Linked DNA regions of Homo sapiens: region 1 is linked to region 2. Evidence: promoter capture Hi-C in 16 types of primary human blood cells and fetal thymus (Javierre and others, 2016). All regions are on one chromosome and are shown on one strand. The core of a region is centred on a gene start or on the middle of the fragment in contact, and the rest is flanking DNA. Distances in the headings are between cores, read along the strand shown. Region 1 overlaps ABLIM1 (actin binding LIM protein 1). Region 2 holds the start of ABLIM1 (actin binding LIM protein 1).

Region 1 (5,710 bases), core at 3,027-5,526, 190 kb before region 2:
TTGCGACCAGCCTGCCCAACATGGTGAAACCCTGTCTCTACTAAACATACATAAATTAGCTGAGCATGGTGGTGTGCACCTGTAATCCCAGCTACTTGGGAGGCTGAGACAGGAGAATCACTAGAACCCAGGAGGCAGAGGTTGCAGTGAGCCAAGATTGTGCCACTACACCCCAGCCTGGGCAACAGAGTGAGACTCTGTCTCAAAAAAAAAGGAAATTATGACATGCGAATTCAATGGAATATCATAGCACCACTAAAATGTCACCTATCTCCAAATCTAGAAAAGGATATATTAGGTAATAAGTACAAAAAACCACATGCACACACACAATATAAAACTGTCTAAAGAGTTGAAAGAGTACAAAGAATATTTTACATTTTAGGAATCTGTTGTCCTATGAAATTTCTACTAGCACAATAAAAGTAAAAAGTTTGAAAGAATGCATTAATAACGACTAAATGAACACCTCAGTAACCATAGCTTTGTGGAATTTGAGAGCAAATGGCAAGGGGAAACTTTGGCTTGATACTAGTTGTCTATAACAATAAATTAAATAAAACAACAACAAAACAAAAAGTCCCCAGATTATGTGCTTCAAGCTTGCACAGTTGGTCAATAGAAATTAATTCTTCATAAATTCAATGCAAATTATTAGAATATAGGTAGAAATTAATAATTCATAGCAGTCATAAACCATGAAAATATTATGGTATTTTTACTACTTTGAATTACAGAGATTCCCTAAAAGTAGTCCAGTTTCATAATATCCAGAAAGTTGCTTGGTTTTAGGATCAGATGATTGATTTCAGACTAAACAGAGTAACCTCCCATCAAGATGGCTCTGCTTATAGAATACGCCATGATGGCTGTTGGCCATTTCAGTATATTAGGGTTCAGAAAAATTAATTATAGATGCGGACAAAGAGCCCCACATTGGGACAAGTGACTTATGTTCCTGCAGACACTTTGCTTCCACTTACAGGCACAGACACAGATTAAAGTGAGGCCATTTTTACTCCCTGGTCTCCAATTTAAGAGAAATATATTGCTGTGTCTTAGAGTCTCCTCTTTCACGGAGGTAATCCCCAAAGCCACCATAACCCCACATGCAGTTTTTCTGTTCTTTTGTATGTTATGTTCTTTTTCAAAAATCCCAGTCTAGGGAAGGGCCAAGCAATTCTCAAATTCCACCCATTAAAATGATAAAAAGAAATGGTACTTACTTCTGCTGATGGAGTAGGAGACAAAGTCCTCGGAGACTAGAAAAATAAAAGAGAATTTAAAGTCACAATGTTTGTTAACTCTTTGCCGTTTTGTTTGTTTGTTTGTTTGTTTGAGATGGAGTCTCGCTCTGTCGCCCAGGCTGGAGTGCAGTGGCGCAATCTCGGTTTACTGCAATCTCCGCCTCCCAGGTTCAAGCGATTCTCCTGCCTCAGCCTCCCAAGTAGCTGGGACTACAGGCGCCGCCACCACCCCCAGCTACTTTTTTTGTATTTTTAGTAGAGATGGGGTTTCACTGCGTTAGTCAGGATGGTCTCTATCTTCTGACCTCATGATCCGCCCCCCTTAGCCTCCCAAAGTTTTGGGATTACAGGCGTGAGCCACCGCGCCTGGCCTCTTTGCCAGTTTTAATTAGAGTTGTTTATCAGAGTCAGCTGTAAATATTAGCCAACATGTACCTGCCAGCATCCCTCCACATCTCCCTGTCTTCTGATCAGGTACAAATGCATCTGCCATGGGGCTCAGACAGGTAGACTCTGACAAAGTTCCGGGGAGATTCTGGTGCACATCTCTGCCTAAGAACCATGAATAGGCCGGGTGCGGTGGCTCACGTCTGTAATCCCAGCACTTTGGGAGGCTGAGGCTGGCGGACCACAAGGTCAGGAGATCGAGACCATCCTGGCTAACATGGTGAAACCCCGTCTCTACTAAAAACTACAAAAAATTAGCCAGGCGCGGTGGCGGGCGCCTGTAGTCCCAGCTACTTGGGAGGCTGAGGCAGGAGAATGGCGTGAACCCGGAAGGCGAAGCTTGCAGTGAGCCGAGATCACGCCACTGCACTCCAGCCTGGGAGACAGAGCGAGACTCTGTCTCAAAAAAAAAAAAAAAAAAAAAAGAACCATGACTAGATATGATTGTGATACATACTTAGGTGATTAAGCTAGACAAGTTGGAACCATTTCCCTTATATATTCAAACTACGCTCATTTTACTATGATGAGTTACAGCATCTACTGAAACATAGGATCTTGTTCACATGGTTGTTGACTAAATTACAACCACAGCAATCACCATAAAATAGTTTGATAACTAAAATAGGACTTTGGTGACCAGGCATGGGGCATCCTGCCTTGGCTGCATCGCCAATCTCACTATCATTCACCTCGCCAATCTCACTATCATTCACCTCTGGCTTCCATCCTCCTAGGCACACAGGCTTCCTTGGGGCCATCAACAGGCCAAGCTTTCTGTCACCTCAGGGCCTTTGCACTTGCTGTCTCTTCTGCTGCCAGTGCTTTTCACCCAGACACCTGCAGGGCTCATTCCCTGTCAGCGCTGATGTCTCTGCTCAAACCCACTGTCACACAGCATCTCCGTGACCATTCTGTCCAGAGGAGCAACCCAGCCCCTGGTACGCTTTCTCTTTACTCTGCTTCATTTCTCCTCAGAGCCCTACCACTCTGTAAAATTATATTACATATCTGTTTCTTTACTGTCTGTCTCCCACGTGATGCCACAAGCTCCATGAGGGCAAGGACTGTTTGTTTACAACTACATATTCCCAGTGATGACAGCAGCTCCTGGGACACAGTAGTTGCTCAAGTATTTTCCAGATGAATAAAATGTTTACAATTAAAATGCAAAAAGCTTTCAAATAGAAATGAAATTCAAACAGAGCTATGGAGAACACAGCCAGGGGTGGACTTCTCAGTTTTAGAATTTGCCCTTTTCCCCACATTCTATAGTAAGTGGGCGGACTGTCTGTATTCTAAGCCTTCACAAGCTCCAGGGTCTCCTCTGCAGCTACAGCCTGTCTCTAGGGGGTCTCAGCTGGGTGAAGGCTGGTCTCAAGGTCAGGGCCCAGGTCTGCACCTGCACTGACAGCAAGGCCCTGGAGGCACCAATGGCTGCACAGAACTAATCTGACTCTTGCAGTGTTTCTTAAATGGCAATATGTATAAAGGCCAGGTGCGGTGGCTCACACCTGTAATCCCAGCACCTTGTGAGGCCAAGGCGGGTGGATCACTTGAGGTCAGGAGTTCACGACCAGCCTGGCCAACATGGAGAAACCCCAACTCTACTGAAAATACAAAAATTAGCCCAGCATGGTGGCACATGCCCGTAGTCTCAGCTACTTGGGAAGCTGAGGCAGCAGAACTGCTTGAACCTGGGAGGCAGAGGTTGCAGTGAGCCAAGATTGCACCACTACACTCCAGCTGGGTGACAGAGTGAGACTCCACCTCAAAAAAAAAAAAAAAAAAAAAAGGCAATATGTATATGAGGTCTATAAAAGAAGTGTGTTAAACTTTAATGGAATAAATAATAGAACAGCTTGTAAATTTCTCTCAGTTGCAAGATGCAAGTATTGGGAAAGAGTTCACTAATATATCTGATTTCTGATCCCAGGGGCACCCTCTATGCATAGAGAAAACCATGGGACATAATTCCAGGTTATGACAGTAAGTATGCTGATTACGAGAGTAGCCAGCATTTTTCTTAAGCACTTATTATGTGCCCAGTACTGTTCTAATGTAAATAGCTCACTTACTCTTTACAGAAAACTTCTAGCATAGGTATTCTTGTTCTCTATCTTGAGTTTGCAGATAAGGAGATTGAGGTATATAATTTCCCCAAAGTTATGTGGTTAGTCAGCATCGGTCTGGTTTTTCTTTTTTTCTTTTTTTGTGGTGGTGGTTTTTGTTTTGTTTGCTTTGTTTTGTTTTTGAGACAGGGTGTCACTCTATCACCCAGGCCGGAGTACAATGGCATGATCATGGCTCAATGCAGCCTCAACCTCCTGGGCTCAAGTGATCCTCCCATCTCAGCCTCCCAAGTTGCTGGGACTACAGGCGTGTGCCATCATTCCTGGCTAATTTTTGTATTTTTTTTCTGTAGAGATGGAATTTTGGTATGTTGTCCAGGCTGGTCTCAAACTCTTGGTCTCAAGCAATCCACCCACCTTGGCCTTGGCCTCCTAAAGTGCTGGTATTACGGACATGAGTCACCATGTCTGGCAGAGTCTGGTTTTAAATGCAGAGATTTTCACCTCAAAGCCCAAACTCTTGAGTGCTTAATGTTTTACTGCCTTGATGGAGCTGCTGGGAAACGCACACAGACACGTACACTGCACACCATGAACCCCAAATCCTTAACACCATTAAAAAAACTCACATCCCCTTGCTTGTATGGGTTAAACATTAGTAAATTCTCATCCACAGGGTCCAAGGCCAATCTCTATGCACTTTGTTCAGGAACTTCCCCTCGCCTCTTATGCCCTACGAAACTCTGTGGGGTTCAATGGCAACTGACAACCCGGGCCAATGCACCTGCGCTTGAGAGCGGCCGCAAGTGCAGCTACAGCTAAGTGACCACTAGGTGGCACTACATGAAAATGGATATCACTTCCTGCCACAGGGACCTTTTCCACGCAGAGCTATGCTCTGGAATAAAACCCAGATTAGAAAGTAAATAAATAAAAGGAACAATATATATAAAATAAAAAATAAACATAAATATAATTATCAAATAATATTATACATCTGGAATTGAGAACAATTAAACAGAATCACATTTTCATGCCTTTTCTTCTCCAAGACCTCAAAGCACTGTGAGATGCTAGATTGTTTATATTCTGTTTTAACCTTTGTTGAATAGCTGATTTGTCAGCTATTTGTTAACATCTTTGTGGACTAAAATCAGTCTACAGATGATTCTAATTCAAAAAATAAAAGAGAAAAAAATGAGAGTGAGCCGATTGGCCAGGGGAAACGGACTTGGGTAGGAAGCGACCACAGAGAACCTTCAACCCTGAGATGGGACCGGGGAGGGGAGGACCCCAAGGGGCTGAGAGGCTCTGGTCCCGCAGCAGATGGGTCTGCAGGCCGAGTATTAACGAGCCCCAAGAGGACAGGTAGCAACAATGGTAGAAATTGCCACATGCTCAGTATTTCCCCCAAGTCTGGCCTCTGATAATTGCTTTACATAGATTAGCTTGCTTAATCCTCACTAACACCCTATGAGGTAGATTCTATCATCACCCTATCTGTTTTACAGATGAAGAAACTAGGACCATTTTTCTTATTTTTTTAATATATATAGATGAGGTCTCAACTATGTTGTCCAGGGTGGTCTTCAACTCCTGGCCTGAAGCAATCCTCCGGCCCTCAGCCTCCCAAAATGTTGGGATTACAGGTATGAGCACTGTACCTGGTCCAGGAAACTAGCAGCAGAATGGCTGTCACATGGTCAAAGTCAAACAATCGGCATGTGGTGATCCCTGGGTTGAGACCAGGTAATTTGATTCCAGAATGCTGGCTCACACTCCTGTGCTAGACTGTTGCCCCATGCGCTCTACTTTATTTTTTCTTTCACATGCTAACTTTCTTAAGTTGCTGAAAACTGTAATTACCAAAATTTAGGGGGTGTGTTCTCTCTCCTCATGATGCCATGAATATACTTAAAGCTTATCACTAGACTAAGACCCCCA
Region 2 (5,819 bases), core at 2,480-4,979:
AAGTGATCCTCCTGCCTCAGCCTCTCAAGTAGCTGGTACTATAGGCCCACACCACCATGCCCAGCCAGGTTCTCATTTAGTTCTCATAATCAATACTGCCCTTAGACACACGCAAGCAGGGCCCCTGCCCTAACCCCATTCCTTCCTCAAAAATGTCTAAGTGCGCTCTGGTACCTGGGATCGCTGGGGCCAGCAGTGCTGTCTGGATGGGGAATCTGAGCCTCCTCTTCACAGATCTCTCTAGTGATCCTCTGCATCTCTCCCATACTGTGCAAGGGGTTGGCCAGATGCCCCAAGGAGCCCCAGGAGTCATGCCAATGGGTTTCTTGGGGCCCTGGAGCTGGCTCCATTCTAGGGGACAAGCCTAGCAAGCAATCACTTCCTCAGGCTGGTGTGGCATTTCTTTCCCAAGACTGAAACAGATTGAGCTGTTGACACACTGCTTTGGGTGACTCAAATTGTTTATATAGACAGGAGCCCTACAAAAAAAATCTGCCCAGGGCCCCATCTACTCTAGGGATAGGCCTGCTCAAAGCAATCCTATAAGGTATGCATTCCCTGCCTACCTTAGGGACAGAGAAACGCACTTGGAATCACTAACTTCCCAAAGTAACACATTTAGTGAGTAGAAGAGCTGGGAGTCAAATTCTGGAATGTCCAACCTCAAAGCCACACTTAACTAATCTCCCAGATTTCCTTATCTGCCTCCACTAAGATATGGATATCCCAATGATGATTACCTTTCCTGTATCCAGAACTCTCTCGGATACTGTTAATTCTCTTGTTCCCAAGTGAGGGAATCTGCTGATAAGTCATTATCCAGCATGCTTTCATTAAACTACAGCTTACCTGGCTTCCCCTTGCCTTCCTGCCTTCTCCTCCCAACAGATCTTATCTCTTTCAAGAGCAACAGTGGCTCATTCCAAAAATATCTGATTTGAGTCTGTTTGAGTAGAAACATTCCATAGAAGCATCGAAGTCATTCAGAATAAAGTGTTAGCTCCAGCAGAAATCTACATGTTTCATTTTTATTCCTATTTGTGGAATAAAACATTTTTTCCTCAATAAAGGGATTCTAGGTATCCCCTAGTATGTGGATCTGATTTTTGAGGGAGGTGTCATTTGCTACAATAGGCATACTCAGCTGGTTCTGAACAAAGTCTTCTTAGCAGAGCTTGTAAGGGGACTGGGCAGAAGGCATGGCTTCTTCATCCCCGCTCCCTGCTCCCCTAAAAAGGAATGTGCCTGGAATCATGAAGAGAAGACTGTTAAGAGTAAGAGACAAGGAGCTGTTACCATCAGCAGCTGTCGAAGTCGGTATCCTGTCTTGCCTGAGCACTGATCTGCTTGTCAGCCCTCTCTGTCCCAGCCAAAGCTCTGTATAGGCACAGTGAGATACCGCTTCACACCCACTAGGATGGCTAGAATAAAAAAGTCAGATAAGGCCGGGCGCGGTGGCTCATGCCTATAATCCCACCACTTTGGGAGGTGGAGGCAGGCAGGTCACCTGAGGTCAGGAGTTCCAGACCAGCCTGGCCAACATGGTGAAACCCCATCTCTACTAAAAATACAAAATTAGCCAGGTGTGGTGGCACATGCCGGTAATCCAAACTACTTGGGAGGCTGAGGCAGGAGAATCATTTGAACTCAGGAGGCAGAGGTTGCAGTGAGCCGAGATCACGCCATTACACTCTAGCCTGGGCAACAAAGCAAAACTCCGTCTCAAAAAAAAAAAAAAAAAAAAAAAGGCAGATAATAGCAAGTGTTAGCAAGGATGTGGAGAAACTGGGACCTTAATATGCTGCTGGTGGGAATGTAAAATGGAGTAACTGCTTTGTGAAATAATCTAGAAGTCCTTCAGAAGGTTAGACATAGTTATTATATGACCCAGAAATTCCACACCTAGGTATACACCCAAGAGCCCTGAACATATCATATGTCCACATAAAAACCTGTATATGATGATCCTTTTGATGTGTTCACACACGCGTGTGTGAGGTGAGCCACCCTCGAACCTTGTTATGACATTGGCACATTACCCATCTGACACGAAAAAAGAAAAAAAAACCTTGTATATGGATATGCATAGAGGCATTATTCATAAAATCCAAAAGTTGGAAACATCCCAAATGTCCATCAGCTGGTGTAAGCAGAAACAAATTGTGGAATATCTATACGGTGAAATAGTATTTGGCCATAACAAGGAATAAAGTACTGACACGTGCTACAACATGGGTAAACCCTGAAAACATGCTAAGTGAAAGAAGCCATAAACGAAAGACCACAGATTATAAATTCCATTCACATGAAATATCCAGAATAGGGAAATCTAAGAGGCAGAAAGTAGATTTTGATTTCTTAAGGCTGAGAGATGGGGATGAAGAGGTTGGGGTGGGGAGGCGATAGCTAAAGGGTACAGGGTTTCTTTTTGAGGCAATGAAAATATATATGTAACATATCAGTTGCATACTAAAACTCGCTGAACTATAGACTTTAAATGGATGAATTTTACAGCATATGAATTATAACTCAATAAAGCTGTTGAAAGCTGATTGCAACAAAACAGAACATCTTAACTCCAGTACTTCAGCTAAACTGAATCCAATTCAACTCTGGCTGTCCAAGAATGACGAGGAATGCGTTATGCTTCCTGGCTTATTTGACTTAACTTCATACATTCGTAGGGACCATGGTTAATTGCCTTCTGCTTCCTGTACCAATTCTAGGTCTGACTTTGACAAGGTGTGAGCAGTTGGGTAGGTATCATCTTCATTAACAAAGGCACCATGATAACTTCAAAGTCTGAAAACTCCCAAGTGCAATAACTCTATCCTCAGAGTGGGCCTTCTCCACCTCTTTCCCAGGCAGAGGGATGAGTGACACGTTTTAATGAGCTTCACTGAAAAGAAGCCTCAACAAGTTCTCTCAATATTAAAACACTTTCTTTTTATTTTATTTCTTTTTTAGAACATTTCACAAGACGAGCCCTCCCTACACAGTGACACAATTTGGACCTCAACTTTACTTATCTTTTGCTAGCCTCCATCTCCCCCCTTGAATATTTCCTTTCCATTCATCCTTTGTCATATGAAATAATAACATCTACAGATAGAGATCTTTCTTTTCCATCATACTTCCTATTACTGACAATTATTCATACCAAGTTTGGAAAGAGATACATTTGTTACTGAAGATCATAAAATCCTGGACAAAAATATCCTTGGGATTTAGCTCCGTAGCTACACTTATGTTACATTCTCCATCTCTCCCACCCTCACCCCCATTAATTATATATTAAGGATAGTGTTTCCTTTGAAGAACACATTACAGAAGAATGATCTGGATAGTACTCTCTTAATTACGCCAATCACAAAACACAAAACCATGTCCAGAGAGGGTTATTTTACTTACCAAAAGGATCAACGCTGTTACATACACGCCCACGTGGGCAGTAGTCCTTGGGACAGAGATACAGCAAATGAGTGATAGTGGCACGCCTATGAGCGGTGAAGGAGGTCCCAGAGACCCTCCGGTCCTCAACAATCAGTCTCTTTCTGTTCGAGCCCCTGGCACTGGTTCTCTCAGATGAGGTGACTTTGCTTTTCTCAGAGCTGCACAATTTCCCCAGACACTTTAGACCAAGGAAGGCAGGCATCTTGGCATGGATTTCCAAGCAATGAGAAATGGGGAGTGGGGACCCAAGGAGCGGTGCTGCCCCACAATTCTCTCTGTTCCCCTGGCTCCTTACTGTCTCCTTTTCTCACTGCCCAGCAAAGAAGATTAAGGGAGATGTATTTAAGTGATTACCCTCAAGAGCTTAGGGCACCATATTCTCAGTCAGATGACTAGGTATAAAAACAGCCACTACCAGGAACTCGAGACTTTCAGTCTCAGACATGAATGCATATTTGAAAATCAGATTAATATCCAGAATAAGAGAAAGAATATAACTGCAATATCTAAAAGAATTCTCCTGCAAATACTCCTAGAATATTCAGTATCATCTGGTAAGAGTACTGAGAATAGGGCTAGGGATATATACACATATTTTATATAATCTAAAAATGTCTATCAGAAAAATCCCAGGGTAATAATTCCAAGTTTTCCAGTATTTCAGATCTCACAGGTGGAGGTGGGGAAGGCTCGATAAAGATCCTCAGCTTCAATTCGTGACAAATCCAGCTCTCAGCCATAGTAAACGATCATTTCCTTTCCATTTTCTAGAAGGGGACCCCTCCCCTCAGTACCAGGAAAATCCTTCTGCCTCATTCCATTAAGCCAATGTTTACTGTCGTAATGTTTCATGGGTTTTCTGTGATGGCAGAATCATATGATGGAGACAGAATTAACATGTAGGTAGCTTCAGCTTTACACAAAGTTACAAGCTAGAAGGACCTTCATGGAATTAGTGTATTGATATAAAAAGGACAACCCCAGTAATTATCATTTACTCTTTAACATCCACACAGTAAGATGCAGTACAAAATGTGACCGTCTACAACCATACAAAAGTCCCAAGTCAAAATGAATAAACTCACACTCCTTCTCCTGTCATTGGGCTATTATGTTCTAATATAAATTCCTTTTCATTAAAACCCTAGAATAGAATTATAGAGCTGACAAGGCCATCAAAGGTAATCTAGTCCAGTAGTTCCCAAATATTGCTGTGCATAAGAACCATCTGCAGGTGCGGTTGCTCACGTCTGTAATCCTAGCACTTTGGGAGGCTGAGGTGGGAGGATTGCTTGAGGCCACTTCGAGACCAGCCCTGGCAACATAGCAAGACTCTGTCTCTACAGAAAAAAAAAAAAAAATTAAAACATTGGCCAAGTGTGGTGTCATGCATCTGTAGTCCCAGCTACTCGGGAGGCTGAGGCAGGAGGATTGGTTGAGTCCAGGAGTTTGAGGTTACAGTGAGCTATGATTGTGCCACTGTACTCCTAGGTGACCGGGCAAGACTCTGTCTCAAAACAAAAAATCTGTAGAACTTTTGAAAAATACAAAATATATATATACGGGATTCTTGCACGTAAAGGTCAGGAACTTACATTTCTTTTCTTTTTTTATACTTTAAGTTCTAGGATACATGTGCACAATGTGCAGGTACATATGCATACATGTGCCATGTTGGTGTGCTGCACCCATTAACTCATCATTTACATTTCTAAACATTCTCCCAGACTAGTGCCAGCACTCAGGAAGCACTGATCTACGCCAGCCTTTAAGATGAGGAAGGTGAGTCTCAGAGAAGATGTGACTTTCTCAGGACAATGCAGAGAGCCTAGGGTGGAGCCGGGTCTTCTGCCTCCCATGCTGACTCTTCCTATCCAATAGTCGGGTCCTTCCACAAAGGCCCCAGGCAGATGAAGCAGAGAAAGGAAATTCTTGCTTCTTTTGTTACAAGTTCCTAATCTATTGGCAACACAATTCAAGAACCTGAGAATTCCAATTTGCTAGAATTATTCTATGCCAATGTGAAGCACGGTGGGAATGGAAGAAACAGACGCTGTCTAGAGGCACTCAGACTGAGGTGGACTTGGGGAAAGTGGGAACATGGGACTTCTACCACTACTGAAGTCACACCTCAAAATTTCTGCTCCAAAATTCTGGGAATTAAGCCCAACACCAACCTCCAAAGTCTTCCTCTAAAAACAGTTTACAAAGCAGGTCAAACAATCTGTATGTGTTCTTTTCCCTGTTTGCCTATTTTGAGGAACCTTCAGATATACAATGTAAGATGTTCTATCAATGTTTCTCAAAATGAGGGTAAGGGATAAAAGACTAAACATTAGGTGCAGTGTACACTGCTAGGGTGATGG

What was found. Contacts are between HindIII fragments. The CHiCAGO score rates a contact against its expected background, and 5 or more counts as called.
Region 1: a contact is called between a fragment that was not itself captured here and the fragment with the promoter of ABLIM1 in region 2, in 2 of 17 cell types (non-activated CD4 T cells and naive CD4 T cells). The highest score is 6.0, in non-activated CD4 T cells.

The regions. Positions count from the first base shown.
Region 1 is chr10:114,466,955-114,472,664 of GRCh38, forward strand. ABLIM1 (actin binding LIM protein 1) reads right to left here. Exons shown (of 23, transcript NM_002313.7): 11 at 1,227-1,262. Among named protein-coding and RNA genes, the nearest start is that of AFAP1L2, 65 kb to the left of the region's middle. The HindIII fragment of the contact is 2,815 bases long and covers 2,870-5,684 here.
Region 2 is chr10:114,654,546-114,660,364 of GRCh38, forward strand. It overlaps ABLIM1 (actin binding LIM protein 1), which reads right to left and starts at 3,730. Exons shown (of 23, transcript NM_002313.7): 1 at 3,412-3,730. The coding sequence starts at 3,655. LOC124902588 (small nucleolar RNA U13) reads left to right here and starts at 1,950; the gene lies at 1,950-2,049. The HindIII fragment of the contact is 14,035 bases long and covers 1-5,819 here.